Regions from separate parts of the Homo sapiens genome. Here region 2 is linked to region 1. The links are contacts of gene promoters, found by promoter capture Hi-C in human tissues and cell types (Jung and others, 2019). All regions are on one chromosome and are shown on one strand. Each heading gives the region's core, a stretch centred on a gene start or on the middle of the fragment in contact. The rest is flanking DNA. Distances are from core to core; before and after follow the strand shown.

What was found. The method cuts DNA at HindIII sites, captures the fragments that hold promoters and counts their contacts. A contact is called where the count stands out against the background at its distance.
Region 2: a contact is called between a fragment that was not itself captured here and the fragment with the promoter of CHST4 in region 1, in 2 of the 25 tissues and cell types used here (mesenchymal stem cells and pancreas).

What each region holds. Positions count from the first base shown.
Region 1 is chr16:71,524,592-71,528,295 of GRCh38, forward strand. It overlaps CHST4 (carbohydrate sulfotransferase 4), which reads left to right and starts at 1,835. Exons shown (of 2, transcript NM_001166395.2): 1 at 1,835-1,904. RefSeq lists an enhancer at 1,468-2,078. The HindIII fragment of the contact is 30,806 bases long and covers 1-3,704 here.
Region 2 is chr16:71,407,883-71,411,586 of GRCh38, forward strand. It overlaps LINC02136 (long intergenic non-protein coding RNA 2136), which reads right to left. Exons shown (of 3, transcript NR_146574.1): 3 at 2,559-2,652. Among named protein-coding and RNA genes, the nearest start is that of LINC02136, 17 kb to the right of the region's middle. The HindIII fragment of the contact is 3,624 bases long and covers 337-3,704 here.

The sequences.
Region 1 (3,704 bases), core at 585-3,084:
CTTAGAGACGTGGGCTGCAGGACTTCCACAAGAAGGCCTGGATATCAGACACCAGCATTCAAATTTCTTCCCAGTGCTGTGGAATGTGGTAGACCCTTGGAAGTCCAGTATCTGAACATGCTGGTCACCACCGTATACTAGTGACCAGAGGATGCCTTTCTTCAGCTGCTTGGCATTCTGCCAGCATGAATTCCTAGCACGGGAAAGATGGCAGGTGATCTGAATTACTTGGGGTTATGGTGTATTTGAGTGACCTCACTATATTTGGGAAGGCGCTGGAAAAACACGAAAAGAATGTTAGAAAGGGCTGGAATAAAACTACAGGAGTCCCCTCTTTATCCACGGTTTTGTTTCCCAGTTTTAACTACTCATCATCAACCACGATTTGAAAATATTAAATGGGAAAATTACAGAAATAAACAGTTCATTTATTACATACTATTCTGAGTAGCATGATGAAGCCTTGTGCCATCTCGCTGTGTCGTGCCAGCACCTGAATCATCTCTTTGTGCATAAAAGCAAAACTACCGACTGCCCAGTTCTAGTGCTTCCAGTTACACCTCTGCCCAAAGTCCTTCACTGGAGGAAGAGAAATTTCTCTTCTCTCTGCCAGAGAGAAACAGGAAGGGAGGAAGAGCCACACAATTGAAATCAAGTCAAGGCAAGCACCACAGGTTCTTGTCATTTGTGCTTAGCGGACTTAGCTGATGGAAATCGGCAAAGATCATCCCAAAGCTCACACAACTCCCTGCCTGCTCTCTCTCTCTTCCAAGGTCTGGAAAAGGAAGTGGCAGCTGAGTTGCGGGGGTGGGTGGCGGTGGGAAGGTATTATTATTCAACCACTTTTTAACTCTTATATTGTCATATTATTGTGTTAGGAGCTTCATACGCATTAATCCTAACATTCACAACAATACTGTAAAATAGATATTGTTACCCTTATTTAACACCGATGATATTCTAGGGCTCAAAGAGGTGGTATGACTTGCCCGGCAAGATCTTGGACTTGAAAGTCTGAGGCTTCCATTCTCCACCACAATTTACGTTTATTCACGGGCATCCATTGTTTCAGACTCATGACAACCGTGTAAAGTAGCACGGAGTAGGTAAGTGATTTGCCCAAGGGCACACAGCAAGGGAGAGGTTGTAATCTTTAATGATAATTTGTTTCTTTTTTTCTTAAAGGGGACTTTTTTTTCTCCTGTACCACCAAGCCAGTACATCTATGTCCTCCCAGAAAATATTTATTACCTCTTGTAGCAAGGGTGAAGATATTGAATACAACACAGAGGCTGAGAAATGTTACCTCCCTAGACCCAGGGTGGAGTGAGCAGGCAGGTGTAATGCAAGAAATAACTTTCACATTTTCTCCTTGGAGATAAGAACAAGGTCTAAAAATCAGGTTTGAGATTTTGTAGCCTTTCGGCTTGTAAGTGTCATGAAATTTCCCTATCAGCCTCATCTACTAGCTCCCTGGGTCTCTCTCTCTCTCTTTCTCTTTTTCCCCACCTCCCCACTCTGCCCATAGGGAGTTGACCTTCACAGTTGCCTTTCAGTAGTCAACATGCCAGGATGCCTCCAGTCTGGGGGAAAATGCTTCCTCATTTGCTTCTCCCAGCCCACCTCAAGCAGTCTCCCCACCCCTTGAGTCTCAGCAGTGTTAAAGCTGTTACTTTCACAGCTTCCTGGGAGCGAGTGCTTTCTCAAGCCCGTCTTGCAAGGTGGGTCCTTTTTTGTTTTTGGCAGAAGGGAGGGACAGTGAAATGTGCTCTGAGTAGGGACGGTTATGCAAAAGCAAGTAGGAGGAGGAAGCCAAGAGGGGAGTTGGTGAGTCAGAGGAGAAAAGCGCATGGCCCGGCTAGCAGTGAGCCTCTCAAAAGCAGCAGGGAAGCCCAAGCCACAAGGTAAGAAGAGAATTTCTGTGTACGACTCCAATGCAGAGCCATTACCCAGAGCTGCTGGAGCAAGAGTATCAGATAACCTCTGGCAGCTAAGCTAGAGATTACAGTGGCGAAGGCGGTTTGCGCAGAGGGGATAAATCAGATCACCTGGGGAATTTTCTGGGTAAAATAAAACACAAGCTGCTTACCAGCAGCCCCCAAGCCCCACTAGCTCTATCCCTAAATGGGTCCAAAAGAGCCCAGAGAGCAGATCAGGCTGTTCTGATGTATATTTTGTAGATGGTCCCCTGGTGCCAACTGACTCGTTCAGATCCTGGCTTTGGAGCTCAAATTTCTGTACTTCCTGCAGCTTCTCCTCTGTTTTCTGCTGGGGAGTGGAAGACAGGAGGTGCAAGGAGCTGTAGGTTTTCTCTAGCTCAGGAGAGGGACAGTGTGATCATTGAAAATTCTCAGCCCTGGGATCCCCAAAACCTGGGTTCTGATCCAGAAAAGGCTATTTATACCGGATGAGCCAGTCAATTAAAGTTTAGTTTATTTATTCTGAAAAATGAAGAAATGTCTCATCACTGTCTAAAATATCTAACCGATCAGTATCATAATTGCAGCTAAAAGGGCTTTAAAAATGTGGAACACCACGCACATGTGCAATATGATTAAGTTATGGTGCCAACATATCAGCTATGGTAGAAGATACGTCTATCTTGCATGGCCTTGGACAAGTATGAAACTTCTAATTGGAATTGAAATACTTTTCTATGTGTAAAATAAATGTAATATTGTCGATGAAAAGAGTCAGACTCTGTGACATATTTGAAGAGATTTATTCTGAGCCAAATATGAGTGACCATGGCCGGTGACACAGCCCTCAGGAGGTCCTGAGAACATGTGTCTAAGGTGGTCGGGGTGCAGCTTGGTTTTATACACTTTAGGGAGACATGAGACTTCAATCAAATACATTTAAGAAATACATCTAGCCAGGCGCGATGGCTCGCGCCTGTAATCCCAGCACTTTGGGAAGCTGAGGCAGGTGGATCACCTGAGGCCAGGAGTTCAAGACCAGCCCGGCCAACATGGCGAAACCCTGTCTGTACTAAAAATACCAAAAAAATTAGCTGGGCATGGTGGCAGGCACCTGTAATCCCAGCTACTCAGGAGGCTGAGGCAGGAGAATCGCTTGAAACCGGGAGGCTGCAGTGAGCCGAGATCCTGCCATTGCACTCTAGCCTGGGCAACAAGAGCAAAACTCCATCTCAAAAAAGAAAAAAGAAAAGAAAAAAGTACGGGTCTGTCGCCCAGGCTGGAGTGCAGTGGTGCGATCTCGGCTCACTGCAACTGAGAGGAAGCCTTCAGATAGCAGGCTTCAGAGAGAATAGGTTGTAAAATGTTTCTTATCAGACTTAAGGTCTGTGTTGGTGTTAATGCTGGAGAGGTATGATGAGGCATGTTAGATCCCCACTTCTTGTCATGGCCTGAAACAGTCTCTCAGGTTAAATTTTAAAAAGACCCCTGGCTGGGCACAGTGGCTCATGGGTGTAATCACAGCACTATTAGGAGACTGAGGTCACTTGAGGTCAGGAGTTCGAGACCTGCCTGGCCAACATGGCAAAACCATGTCTGTACTAAAAATACAAAAAATTAGCCAGGTCACTCGGGAGGCTGAGGCAGGAGAAGCGCTTGAACCTGAGGAGTCGAGGTTGCAGTGAGCTGAGATCGTGCCACTGCACTCCAGCCTGGACAACAGAGCAAGACTTCATTTCAAAAAAAAAAAAAAAAAAAAGAGTCCTGGCTGAGGAGGAAGTCCTT
Region 2 (3,704 bases), core at 899-3,398, 120 kb before region 1:
CCTTCTCTGATCTTTCCTCTGAATGAGGAACTACTAATTCTGAGGCTTGTGGTTAAACAGAAATGTATTCACCACAAATGAAGATTATCTCAAGATCTTGCTCCCCACAAAATTAACTGTTTCATTTTAATTGTAGCTCATATTTTAATAGTAAAGGACTGAAAGGTTTATGTTGCACTTAATGCTCTCAAAAACCTTTAGGGTGTTTGTTTGTTTGTTTGTTTAGAGACAGGATCTCACTCTGTCACCCAGGCTGGAGTGCAGTGGCACAATTATAGCTCACTGCAACCTTGAACTCCTGGGCTCAAGTGATCCTCCCACCTCAGCTTCCTGCATAGCTGAGACTACAGGGGCATGCCACTGGGCTCTGCTGAATTTCGTTTCTTTTTTTTTTTCCTCTCTTTTTTTTTTTTTTTTTTTTGTAGAGACAGGGTCTCACTATGTTGTCCAGGCTGGAATCCTTAAGGTTTGCATAACGAGAAACACAGTAAGAACCAAGTTCCAGTTGATCAGGCTGCCCTACCAGATTAAGGAACTCGTACTTTATATCCAATGGGGCTGCAGTTTGGAAGCCCTGTAGTCGTCGACTTTCCCTTTAAGCAGTGCACAGAAATAGGAAGAGATCAATAAAGCCCAGAAGAGAAATCTTGCCAAACTTCAACACAGCAAATAACAACCACTTATCGAGGGCTCAACTCCACTAGGAACATCACAAAGCAGCAGTTCTCAGTTGGGGGCAATTTTGTCCCACTCTCACCTCCCCAAAGACATTGAGCAATGTCTGAAGACATTTTTTATTGGTGAAACGAGGTGGGGATGGGGTGGAGGGTGCTACTGGTATCTAGTGGGTAGAGCCAGAGATGCTGCTAATCACCCTGCAATGCACAAGTCAGTCCACAACAACAAGGAATGATTTGGCCCCACATGGCAAGATTCCCCAGGTTGGGAAACTCTGGTATAAAATAAAGGCACCTGAAACACGCCCCTGACCCCAACCCCAGGCATCCAGTCTTTATGTCATGATCCCTCTGAACATCTTAGTTAAGCTATTGCCTTTGCTCCTAAGGGAAAAAAAAATATTTATACATGCATACACAGAAACAAAGCTTTGCAATTTTGGGGGGCAAGGTGACAGAGCAGGGGCCTTGCCATTGTGGACAAGCACCTTATTTTAAAATTCATCTTAATCAAAAACCGCCTAAAGCCAAAAGGCATCAGCCTAATGGCTAAGGTCGGCATGACCAGAAACTACAAATAACATCTCCGACCAGAAACATTCCAAACTCCTCCCCAACCAGAGACATGCTAGCCCCAAGATAACCCCCCTCTGGCTGGGAAGATGCCAGCCCCAAGATAACTAACCTCCCTCCTGCCGGAAAGACGTCAGCCCCAAGATAACCTCCTCTCTGCCCAGAAACATTCCGACCCGGCTATAGACTTCTCCCTGACCCAAAAACATTCCAAGCTTGTGATAAGACCCTCACCCTAAAACCAATATATACTTTTAGTCTGTAACAGAAAGCGCCCCTGACCAAAATCGGCCAGAAGCCCCTCCAGGTTTTATCTAAAGTAAACCTGTCTTTAAAAATTTCATGTTTTTTTCCTCTTTCTTTAACTCTTACACAAGTGTTCATCAATCCCTGATGCCCATTCAGGAACACTCCTCAATCCCAGACACCCAAAGATACTGAAGTCAGGTTCTTTTCCTTTTTCTTTTTTTTTTGTCTCGCTCTGTCACTCAGGCTGGAGAGCGGTGGCGTGATCTCAGCTCACTGCAATCTCACCTCCTGGGTTCAAGCGATTCTCCTGCTTCAGCCTCCCGAGTAGCTGGGACTACAGGTCTCCATCTCCTGACCTCGTGATCCACCCGCCTTGGCCTCCCAAAGTGCTGGGATTACAGGTGTGAGCCATTGTGCCCAGCTGAGGTCAGGTACTCTTTTTAGCGAGTATTCCCATTTTAAAAAATCTTTTTAAATAAAAAGAACCTGGCTCCAAAAAAACCATTTGCATGTATGATACCTCATTGAAACCTCAGAGCCATCCAACCGGGTCAGGTCTACCCGAATTGCCATGGACAGAGAACAAGACTGGGGCACCGAGAGGTTTAGATGACTTTTCTGTGGTGACACAGCCAGTGAGTGGCAGAGACACAGGAATGCCACCCCACCCCTGCTCTGGCCACCACCGGCACTCCAGGTTCTGACACCCCATGCCGTGGAATCGCACGGTGGGATCCCAGCTGACCCAGGGTGCTCCGTCTCCACCCTGGCTTTCCATCTGGCCCACACAGGTGAAGTGCAAAGGCTGATCTCAGAGAAACCATCAGAGGTACTATCACACTGCCTCATCAGTGACAGTCACTCTCCTGGCCAGGTGCATGGGCGTGGATGTGGATCACATCAGGTGTGGAACAGAGGCAGCGCACTCCTCGAGCCCCAGGTGTTTGTGGGAAGCCAACCATACCCTGAATCTCTCCTAGGTACAGGTAGGCCCAGGTGCAGCTCTGACAGGCTCGCCACTCCCGGGCAGGAAACCTCCCAGCCTCAGTCAGCTCCTCTTAATCAGCCCCTCTTCATCTCCAACCAGGATCACCAGTCTGCCAGGCCCCTTCCTGTGCTCCTCAGGAGGCCAGCAGTCTGCCAATATCTGGAACTTAATGAAATGAGAGTAAAAGTGAATCCCTGAGGTTGCCTTATTTTTCCTCCATTGAACCTCTTTCCAGTTCCCTCAGTCTCTCTCTGCCTTTGTTTTATAGTAAGAGGCTACATTTGGACCAGGTGAGCTACTGGTCACGCAGGAGTCGATCTTGCTGTCCTCCTCTGGCTGGACACTATGGCCTGGAACTGACTTCCAGCTCAGGAGTTTGAGCCCAGGAAGCTTATCCTCTGTTTTCACATGCTAGTAGTCACCCTTTTGGTCTGATTGCTGTTGAAAACCACGCAATACAACACCTGCAACTCTGTCGGAAGCCTGTGACAATCAAACTGCATTCACCCAGACTGTGTTCAGAGGCGCATATGTCTTAGAGTTTGCAAATGCATATATTCAAGTCTAAAATCTGTGTTTCAGAAAGCAACAGCCAACCAGATTTAGCAAGTCCCACCCATTTGCCGTAGGTACACCAGACCAATTTTTTAAATGAGTAAAACATTTTTTTTTTTTTTGAGACTGAGTCTCACTCCATCGCCCAGGCTGGAATGCAGTGGCACGATCTCAGCTCACTGCAACCTCTGCCTCCTGGGTTCAAGCGATTCTCGTACCTCAGCCTCCCAAGTAGCTAGAATTACAGCATGTGCCGCCATGCCCAGCTAATTTTTGTAGTTTTAGTAGAGATGGGGTTTCACTATGTTGGCTAGGCTGGTTTCAAACTCCTGACCTCGGCCTCCCAAAGTGCTGGGATTACAGGCATGAGCCACCATGTCCAGCCAAAACATTATTTTAAAGCTAAGCTCCCCACCCTCTTGCTATTCCTTTGGTTCCCCTCTCTCCCCGGGACAAACCCCATTCAACTCTAACATGCATCCCATCTCTGGATATTTCTCACTGTTACAAGGCAGTCATGTAGCCAGGACCACCGTGTCCTGATGTCTAGTGTGTTTGACAACTAACAGAAAAGGGATTTGGCGTTTTTATTTTATTTTGAGACTGAATCTCACTCTATCACCCAGGCGCAATCTTGGCTCACTGCAACCTCCACCTCCCAG